3 separate regions of the Homo sapiens genome follow, and all the other regions are linked to region 1. The links are contacts of gene promoters, found by promoter capture Hi-C in blood cells and fetal thymus (Javierre and others, 2016). All regions are on one chromosome and are shown on one strand. Each heading gives the region's core, a stretch centred on a gene start or on the middle of the fragment in contact. The rest is flanking DNA. Distances are from core to core; before and after follow the strand shown. Region 1 holds the start of PIGK (phosphatidylinositol glycan anchor biosynthesis class K). Region 2 holds the start of LOC124904202 (a long non-coding RNA gene). Region 3 overlaps AK5 (adenylate kinase 5).

Evidence for each region. The method cuts DNA at HindIII sites, captures the fragments that hold promoters and counts their contacts. A CHiCAGO score of 5 or more calls a contact.
Region 2: a contact is called between a fragment that was not itself captured here and the fragment with the promoter of PIGK in region 1, in 4 of 17 cell types (total CD8 T cells, total CD4 T cells, non-activated CD4 T cells and 1 more). The highest score is 6.2, in total CD8 T cells.
Region 3: a contact is called between a fragment that was not itself captured here and the fragment with the promoter of PIGK in region 1, in 3 of 17 cell types (total CD4 T cells, non-activated CD4 T cells and naive CD4 T cells). The highest score is 7.5, in total CD4 T cells.

The regions. Positions count from the first base shown.
Region 1 is chr1:77,217,498-77,220,990 of GRCh38, forward strand. It overlaps PIGK (phosphatidylinositol glycan anchor biosynthesis class K), which reads right to left and starts at 1,933. Exons shown (of 11, transcript NM_005482.3): 1 at 1,813-1,933. The coding sequence starts at 1,905. LOC105378808 (a long non-coding RNA gene) reads left to right here and starts at 2,023. Exons shown (of 3, transcript XR_001738109.2): 1 at 2,023-2,156; 2 at 3,291-3,493. RefSeq lists an enhancer at 1,617-1,726. The HindIII fragment of the contact is 2,966 bases long and covers 1-2,861 here.
Region 2 is chr1:77,434,575-77,438,067 of GRCh38, forward strand. The region is part of intron 8 of AK5 (adenylate kinase 5); the gene reads left to right. LOC124904202 (a long non-coding RNA gene) reads right to left here and starts at 3,030. Exons shown (of 2, transcript XR_007066178.1): 1 at 2,846-3,030. The HindIII fragment of the contact is 2,272 bases long and covers 687-2,958 here.
Region 3 is chr1:77,416,013-77,419,505 of GRCh38, forward strand. AK5 (adenylate kinase 5) reads left to right here. Exons shown (of 14, transcript NM_174858.3): 8 at 1,627-1,703. Among named protein-coding and RNA genes, the nearest start is that of AK5, 140 kb to the left of the region's middle. The HindIII fragment of the contact is 4,885 bases long and covers 1-3,493 here.

The sequences.
Region 1 (3,493 bases), core at 683-3,182:
TTTGTTTGTGGGTCATGGTGGAGAGTTTAGAGCAACATTAAGGTGATCTTTTGAGCAACATCAAGGTCCCTGGGTGACATGATTGGAACTGCATTTTTAAAAGTTACTCTGGCTTCAATTTGGAGAACAGATTGAAAGGAAAAAACAACGACTCAAGGCAAAACATTTAGGAAACTGTTGCTCCTATCTCTAAGTGAGATATGATGGAATAACAGTACAAACCATACACGGGTTATAGTAAATGAGTGCTGTATCAAGTGTACAAATTACAAGAGTAAAGGCAAAGGTAAGAGATAGGGAAACGTTCTACAGAGGTTATGCCTTTACTGTATCTTAGCACATGAACAGAGGAAACACAATGTATAAAATATTGTAATGTGAAAAAGCACAGCAATTATGTAACTACAAAAAACAGTAATAGTATCCAAGATGAAGCAGTCAAAGTTAGAATAAAGGAGGGAAACAGAACTTCTATTTACTCATATTTATGTTCTCTAAAAATTATGCTATATAAACATCAAATATATAAATTAACAGTAATTCATAAATATATATGAAGTTCATGCTCAATATCTTTTTTTAACTGATAGGGTGTGTATTCAAAAAGTTTGGAGTCCACTGGTCTAAGCTCAAGGTGCCCAGGTGGTGGGGAGAAGAGGTTCCAATATGGAACACTGGAAAAGTAGGCAAGCACCAGGTCATAACGTTTAGACTTTATTCTGTATGCAATTAATAAATATTTAAAAGATTTCATCAGAAGAATAACCTGATCAGGCTTACATTTCGTGTAGACGAATCTAGCACCAAACTCAGGGAGTATGGAGGCCTATGGAAAACAAGATAAAGTAATCGCAAGAGTCTAGACAAGAAGTGATCACAGCCTGAATTAAGTCAGTGGAACTGGAGAGGTGAGGGCAATTTTAAGAACTCAGATCACAAAATTTAGTGATAATTAGAATATGGGATAAAGAGATTAAGACTCTCAGGTTTCTAGCTTAGGAGCAGCACATCTGGTTGAGAAATGGAGGAGAAAAGGGGTGCTTAGTTTTTCAGTGTCTTTTTAAGAGGAGGTAGGATAAGCAGAAGATAAAACTTTGCACACGGATTTTCAAATGTCTCCTGACTATCCCGGATTCTTAGTCAGCTGGATATGCAGGCCTGAAAAAGATACCAGACATCTAGATTGTAGACCGGGACTGAGGAATCATCAGAGTATGGTGAATAGTAAAAGCATTATAGAGCACCAGAACATCCTGTGTCCACGTTTAAAAATGGGAAGCTGGAGGAGCCCAGGATAAAACTAAGCACCCCTTTTCTCTTCCATTTCTTAACCCAGACGTGTTGCCCCTAAGCCAGAAACTTGAGAGTTTTAATAAACACTTATATTTATCCCATGTTCTAATTATCACTAAATTCTATTATCTGGATTCTTAAAATTGCCCTCATCTCTCCAGTTCCGTCTGACTCCTATCAAAACAGAGGGCTGCAGTTGAGTAGTAGGAAAGCAGTTGCTGCACACTGACATTTCACGAGCCTCTTGCTCGTATTTCACCTAAGAACTGCACACATGTAGGAGCAAAGGATCAGGTCCTCCTCTGTCTCCGAGGGTTTGATTATTTCAATTCATCGTTTTAAAACGCTGAAACAGACCAACAGTGTCCTAACCCGTGCCCAGTGATACCCTCCTCAAACCCAGCCTGGGTCAGGGGCTGATTGACTCCAGGAGGCGTCCCTCAGCTACTGTGTATCGGACATCTGCTGGAGGGCTCACAGCCGGCCTCCCGGCTGTGGTCAAATGAGCCTGACTCCTACCTCGATATGACTAGCGGCCACGCTGCCGAAGGACAAGAGCAACACAGTTGCCAAGACAGTCGCAGCCCGGCTGAGGCTGTCGGTGACGGCCATGTTTACCGGCTTCAGACTTCCCGCACCTGAAGGGGCGGAGGCAGTGCCGTAAAGTAGCGCTGCGGGTTTTTGCGACACCATCCGCGCCTCTTCGAGGTGGCCCTCTGGTCCGGCTTTAGAACTCTGCGGTTTTGTGGAGCTCGAGAGTCCGGGACAAGGTAGACGCAGGATATTGACCTTTTTATTTTTAACTGCATTTTCAGTTTGGAGGTTGTAAAATAGGTATAACATTTAAGAAAAAAAATTGAAAGGTGAGTGGAGGGAAAACCCGTAACTCCTTAAACTTTAAAAACTTATTTCTCTGTTCCCTTATTTATTTTATTTATTTATTTATTTATTTATTTATTTATTTTGCCGAGTGCTGCCAATTCTTTGAAAATATGAAGCTGGATGTGGTGGGAAGAACAAGCGTTTTGGCACAAAAAGATGATTAATTGGATAAACTATAAATGGAAAATGTGGGTGGGCGCTGCAATTTAGAGGCTTGGGGTCTACTACCTGGTGAAAGGATTAACATGGGAAGCTAGTTACGTTTTTGTTTCTTGAGTATCTTCTGTAATTATGGAACTAAAGCCTATCTGGAAGAGACACAGCTGGTGTATATGTATGGTCCACCATTCTCTTTATTATGTGAGTTCAGTTTTAATTTATGCATTTCATCTAGTATGACATAAACGTTTCCACGCTGCTTCCTCACAATTTTAACATTTAATGGTGAGATAAAATTCCATCCATTATTGATGCCTCAGCCAAAGTAATTGTCCCTCTGCTGCACAATGCAAAGTTTTTAAGTTTTACTATGAAAATAATATTGTAAAGAGTATCTTTTGTGTGTTTGGCTTTTTAAATCTGTTGAATTATTTTGTTTGTATAATTTTCCTGAACTAGGAATTTGGGGTCAAAATATTCCAAAACATTTTAATAACTATAAATGATGTTGCTTTCCAAAATGAACAAGCTTACAGCACTATCAGAATACACAACACCAAACCATACCATTTTTTTTCCTTTAAATTCTTTGGTATGAAATGTTACCCCTAGGTAACTATACTTATAATTCTTTGGTTACTATCAAGATCTGATGTCTTTCTTGTGTTTCTAAACTATCTCTGTGTCCTCTGATGTAAATTCTTTGTTTATATATTTATGTTTTGCATATGAATTTGAATAATATATTTATAAATAAGTAACATTAGCCTTTGCCATATTTTATGCTATTGCTTTTCCCATTCTCTTGTCTCTCTTTTCCTTTTATTTGTTTCTTTTGCTATTGCACTTTGTGAGAGGTTTCATGCTATTTAGTCAAATTTAGGTTTTCCGTTACGTGAATCCTAGAAAGTAAATACACTGCCAGAATATCTTCCATGTATTCATTAATTCAACAGATATCTATTGGATGCTGATGATTATGAAACAAAGTAGCAAAGATAAGAAGCCATTTGCTCATTCTGCTCCTTTGCCAGCAATATTTCACAAAGCCCCTGACTCATTGACTGTGAGCAGCCTTGTGGAAGAATGCCTTGAAGACCATAAGCAGGATAGGGAATAGGTTTGCACATCTCTTGCCTGAATCACTGAATTTTTACAA
Region 2 (3,493 bases), core at 573-3,072, 220 kb after region 1:
GTTCCATGGATATAAAACAAACCAACAAAAATCCTTAACCTTTCCAAAGCTCAGTTTTCCTAAATAATCAAAAAACATAATAAAGACAATGTGAAGCACAGGAACTTACAAAAATCTTCATCTTAGGCCAATTACCAAAAGGGGGAAAGAAAGAAAAAGCTTCCTGCAATATAATTGCTTCTTACTGGAAGCCCGTTTAAATAACCTGGAAGTCTAACCTGATGAAAAACTACTTGAATTTAATCAGACACAAGAAGAGTGGGTCCAGTGGTATGAGTTTACATCATATCATAGAAGAAGTAAACAAGAAAACTAGTACCTTGAGCAGAGGAATACATGGCTCTTTAAAAAAGTGAAAACATGAAATTGCCTGGTTAGATGGAACAATTCAAACATATCAAGAAAAACCAAGATTGCAGAATCAAGATATACTGGAGGGGAACATTGCTTTTCTAGGGCTTCAAGACAAACATTTGAGCATCAGGTCATAACAGCAGAGCTTGAAGTAGAGAAAAAAGTTTCAGGAGCTGACGAAAAAGTTGAAGGAGCGAGTTATCAACCTAGCCAAGCAAAAAGATGTATCCTCTCAAGGAGGGACAGGAAGAGCAGAAGGCAGTGTTGTATGACCTCAAATCCTGTGCTGCAAGATACAGCAAAAATTGTACTTCTGAGATATGAATCTGAAAAGCTTCAAGAGGAAAACTTTACCTCAAGAAATGAAATTACCATCCTAAATGAAGAACATAGCACTTTTAATTTGAAACTAGGGAAAGTAAATAGACTGTAAAACAGAGGCTGGGCATGGTGGCTCACGCCTGTAATCCCAGCACTTTGGGAGGCTGAAGCCAGGGGATCACAGGGTGAAGAGACCGAGACCATCGTGGCCTACATGGTGAAACCCCATCTCCATTAAAAATATAAAAATTAGCTTGGCATGGTGGCGTACACCTGCAGTCCCAGCTACTCAGGAGGCTGAGGCAGGAGAATCGTTTGAACCCGGAAGGCAGAAGTTGCAGTGAGCCAAGATGGCGCCAGCACTCCAGCCTGGTGACAGAGCAAGACTCTGTCTCAAAAAAAAAAAAAAAAGAAGCTGCAGTTTAGAAGATGGCTGAAATTTTACAGAATTAAAAATCAAAGACTTTCACAAATTTTACTAAGAGCAGATTAGTACTTCAAGAAAACTCTGTTGTTCTAATATAAGAAACCAAAATCTTAGTTTTATATCTTAGTTGTAAATTAAGTTTTAACTTATAAACTAAGTTATGTATATAATCCTTAATCCTTAGAAAGATATACATAATTCCCTTTTATTTATAGCAAACTTGATTACACACACAAAACTCCTTTTATAAAATTCATCCCTCAAAAACCTTTCACGATCTGCACAGACCTTTGATGGCATGCTTAAGCCGTTAGTTTTGTCCTATACATTCGCTTTTTAAAATAACAAGTCACCTTAGGATAAAAATTTACTTTCCTTGTTCCCTTGTTATTTTGAAAAATTATTCACTTCTAACATTCCATGCCAAAAATACATCTTCACACTTAAAACTTTCTTCACATCTCTGTTTCCTACTTACTGGTTCCTTTCTGTCTTGTTTCTATTTCCTTTCTAAATTCGTATTTTGAAACAATCTTTAAATAACCTCTAAATTAGACAAATTTTTCTTTTTCTCAACAAAGAACATATTTTTATCCCTTTCTTATAACTTCTCCTCCCAAAACACATTTTACATTTATTGGTATGCTTTGTATACAGAATTATATATGTTAATTAAAATTCAAACTCTTAGTAACATTAATTTCTAATGAAAGTGTAGGAAGCAAGAAATTTTGAACTGTTCCATATCAGTATTTTATATATAAGAATGATTTTATAATTTTGGAAACATGTTTCCTCATAATTTTAATGTGTATTAATGAACCCAAATATATTTGTTTTTCTATAAAATTTAAGAAGCCAAGAACAAACTTATATTTGTGTTCAGCAATTTGTTTCAATATTTTATCTTATTTTGAAATGACCCAGATACTTAATGAGTATCTGTTACTTAATTTAACATAACTTTAAAATTTTAAGTTATCAAAAAGATTTTTTGAAACTAAGAAGAATTAATTTATAAATGATTATACCATTTACATTCACCTAATTTGTTTATTTTTAACAATTATAACTATATTACTTATGAAAACTAAGATATTAGACAAGGCTAGTAATTATTTCAGGCTAATTCCTTGTTAGCCGTTTTTACAGGCTGTGACTATTAAGCATTCCTCACCCAACTAAGAACCATAAAGTTAAATACTTCAGTATCTTGCCAATAACTCAGAAAATACAGCTGCTTTCATTAAATCAACAATATTAAATTAGTATTACTTATCAAGGAATTACATAAACAAAGATCGTTCTCTTTTTAGGATGGATTCATAGTTCTATGACATTCATGTCAAACACTGACTCCTTAAAATATATCTAACAAAGATAAATGTAAAACTGCCTGACCAGTAAACTCAGGCACAAATCTTTGCTGACAATTCTTAAGACATTTCTGTTTTTATTTTATCAACAATTTTAAAATCAGTTTACTTATCAAACATTTACCCAAGTCAGGTGAACTTAAAAACTTTGAGGTGGCTATTATGTTTTTGATAACATACTTGATTGAAGTGCTTAATTTTTCCCTTTAATTAATTAATTAATTAGCTCTTTGATATATTTTGGTAGAAAAATACATACATGCAACATAAAAACATACAGACAACATGAATACATCGAAGCAGATTCTTTAGCTTTCATTTTGAAATGTTAATCATGAGACAGCAAAACATAGTAATTTAAACTTACCAGTTTATAAAAGGACAGTTGAATCCAAATTATATTTCTGACAAAATGGGACCTGTTCACATGGCTAAATTTTATTTGCCCTGATAGGTGATCTTATGAAGGCTGTGGACCAAAGCTTTGGGTAAAGCAGTTTCCACAGCAGTTTGATTTTTAGAAACCTCTTTTTCTCCTTCAAGTTTTAAACTGGTACAGAGGTTAAATATTCAAACATTTTCATTTTAGATAGCACCAACTAAATTGTGTAGAAAAACAAAATACCCCGGTGGCCTTGAATTCCGGCAATAAATTTATCTTTTTATTTGTTTGTCTGATTTACTTGATTAGTCGATGCAGGCAGGAAAGCATTTTAGAAAAAGGTATTTAAAGGGTTTTTTTTTCCCCTCAGCTTTTCCTGGCTCACATACAGCAGACAAAGCAAAATTTTTATGTCAAAGATACCTTCTATTATTCCCCTGAGCTCAAGATTTCGACCTGTTTGATCTGAGAGCCTAACTTTTGTAAACCTTAATCTAGTTCTTTCCTTCTTAGACTATCTAGCTTTTAATTAACTAAAGCAATTGTTAAATCACCCTAAGCAATTGCTAGTCAATCAAAACTAAATTAACATTTCCAAAAGGGATGACTCTTAGGTGTACTGGATAGCTTGTT
Region 3 (3,493 bases), core at 341-2,840, 200 kb after region 1:
CTATTATCTTATAATGGGAAAAATACATATATAGATTTTTTTTTTATTTCTGATACTTACTGCCTCACAACATAAGTGCAAACTGACCTTCAAACTGGGCTTTACGACGGCTGAGTATTTTGGCCCCAAAATACACCTTACAAAATTATTTATTTGAAAAAAATACCAAAAGTACAAAGGTAGAAAAATTATGTATAATCCCACTAATGTTAAAATACATATGTAAATTAAAGTTTCCCACCTCTACCTTCTAATCTCTGTTAATAGTATGGTGGGTAGTCTTGCCAACTCCATTCTAGCAGCCATCTTATGAACAGTGGTCTGGCAAGGGCTGTGCTGACAGCATGACTAGCATCACCCAGGGTTGTTCTGAACACACTTATGCAACTGCAACTCTTCATGGCAACGCTATGATTACTTTTCCAAAATGGTTTGATGGTTTAGTATGTCCATTTTGAAAAACTTTATCATCCTGTAAAAAATGTAAAGATATAAACACAGTAAACACTGGCATTACTGCTTAGAACTTAATCAATTTGGTAATGGCTATTACTTTGTCAAGTTGGTAGACAGCAGGGACAATGATAAGAGAAGAGAAGGGGGAAAAAAGAGAAGAGATGAGAGAAGACTGTGTAAGGACATACCCCGACTCATTTGGAAAGAAAATATGAAAGCAACATCGGGGACAGGTCTATATCTGAGAAGTGTATGAGATGCTTAACATTTTTTACAAATTTATATTCATTATGCATTACTCATTGGATATTCTGACTAAGAATGATTTGCCAAGGCCAAGTTTACAGTGAAACAATGTTTTTTCACAGGATATATAATATTTTATGGGCAGCACTGAATTCAGTCTTTCTGGGTAGTTAGATGATATATATTTCCTAGCAGGAAAGAGTTATTAAATGAGAATGATGAATCAGTTGTGCTTCAGAAGTCCCATTGTAAAAATTACCAGTTTAAGTCTGAGCCTTGGGGATTAATGGGTAACTGATTTAATGAAACCTGTAGTACCTAAGGGAAATAATCTCTCTATTCATACATTAAGTTAACCCGATTTTTCTTACCTTCAGCAACTAAGGTGACCCGAAGGCTTGAGGAAAAACTCGAGTTTTCAGGGAGTACGCAAACTTAGCCCTTCCTGTTTCTGGAAACCCCTTACTCTCCTCCCACTCTGTACTTTGCTCATGGTGTTCCTTCTACTTCCATTATTGTTGCAAATCCTGAAACTGCTCCCCCTCCTGGACAACCTGTATTCACCCTCAAAATTCAGGATCATAGATTAGTACCTCATGAAGAATCTTAACTCCACCATCACCTCTACTACTAATCAGAATTAGTAGCTCACTCTCTTGGGTTGCTGAACCTTTAATAATAACTCTTGTTGACAAATTATTCTTCCTCACAGTATTTTCTTCTTCTTAAGGATGCAGACAGTGTCCAGAGTCTCTGCATTTTGAATCTCCAGCAAAACATTGTACCTGGCAGATGAGAACAGTCTAGAAATGTTTGTGAATTTAATGTGATATAGGAAAATATGGAAACCTAGTGAGAGACTGTTTGCTTTAGAAACATACATAGACAACCTCCATCCACTTATCTTTTCTTTCCTAATCTTAGGTTCAAGTGACCTTGATCCTTCGATGATATTGGACACTGGAGAGATCATTGATACAGGATCTGATTATGAAGATCAGGTAATTAAAATCTGAAAATAGTTCTCTATTTAAATGTTTTTAAGTTGAACCTTTGTAAATGTTTTATGAAAATTTGAATTATAAAAACTCATTTTGTGAAATATATACAGATAACTAATAACATATTACATGATAAATTACAGTAGTCTACAGTTTTCATTCACTAAGTTTGGCTTTTTGGCACTCCCTTGTCCTAAGATTCAAAACACAGTGAATTAAAGAAAGGTTTATCATCAAACGTTAACATGGGATAGAAATGAGGTTCTCTTGCCCAAGAATTTGCCTGTGTCTCTATCCCTTCCCACTAATAAACTAATAATATTTACTGAGCATCAGCTACAGGTTCAGGGCTCTGCTATTTTATCGCTAACTGTATTAGTCCATTTTCAAGCTGCTGATAAAGACATACCCAAGACTGGGCAATTTATAAAAGAAAGAGGTTTAATGGAGAACTCACAGTTTCACATGACTGGGGAGACCTCACAATCATGGCAGAAGACAAGGAGGAGCAAGTCACATCTTACATGGATGGCAGCAGGCAAAGGGAGAACTTGTCCAGGGAAACTCCTGATTTTAAAACCATCGGATCTTGTGAGACCCATTCACTATCACAACAGCACAGAAAAGACCCGCCCCTGTGATTCAGTCATCTCCCACTGGCTCCCTCTCACAACATGTGGGAATTATGGGAGCTACAAGATGAGATTTGGGTGGGGACACAGAGCCAAACCATATCACTAGTCTGTGGAAGGGAATGATGAACGAGGAAAGCATAGCCAAGAAGTTAAATACATTTTCTCTTTGAATAAAACTGAAGACATTTATCTGGGTCATTTTCCTCTCAGCAGAAGAACTCTCTCTGCTGCTATATTTTAATGAACCAAAATAGTTGGCAAATGAGCCAACCCCCTAATTAGGCTTTATTTTTAAAAAAGAAAAATGTCCAAAACTTTCTTCCGCCTCTCATCAGTGCTCCTCAGCAATGGCTAAAAGCCAAGTGAACATGTTCTTGGGGGAGGCTTTGTTCCCATCTTTAACTAATATTCATCACAAATAAAGCAAACAGATCAGACCAGTGTCCATGTGTAATGGCTGGCTGTATATTTCATATACGTATTCAGGAGCTATTTTCTTGAGTATAAAGTTCTTTCCTTATAGCACAAAGCAAGGAGATGATGTTGGCAAGTGCTATAATAGCTACACATGTTTATAGTAATTTTTAACATCTATTAAGCACTTATTACATGCAAAACGTTGTGCCGAGTTTCTTATATTAACTCAGCAATTCTTCACAACATCTCTAGGAAGTAAGAATTATTATCTCTATATCACAGACAAAAAAAAAAAGGACTAGAAGAGTAATTTACCCAAGGTTACATAAATAGTTTCACAATAAGGATGTGAACTTAGGGCACATTCTCTAGCATACCCAAGACTGGGCAATTTACAAAAGAAAGAGGTTGTGCTGCCTCTGCCACAATGTACTGCCTCCCATCCTAACCTCCAAAGACAGGTCATTCAATGATATGTATTGGGAGCCTTTTCAGTTGCTGACCCATAAGACTCCAGCAGAGGCTAATGCAAAACAACCACTTACAATCTAAAATTACAGACTGCACAAAGAAATGATTCACAACAAGGAAGCCAGCTAGTTAAAGAAATGGAAGACTCCACACCCCCCAAGAACTAGAAAGAACAGAAAAATCTGAAAGAAATCATAATATAAGGATATTCAAAATATTGAAAGGGAAGATTAGAAGCCATGAAACAAATACATGAACAAATGGAAA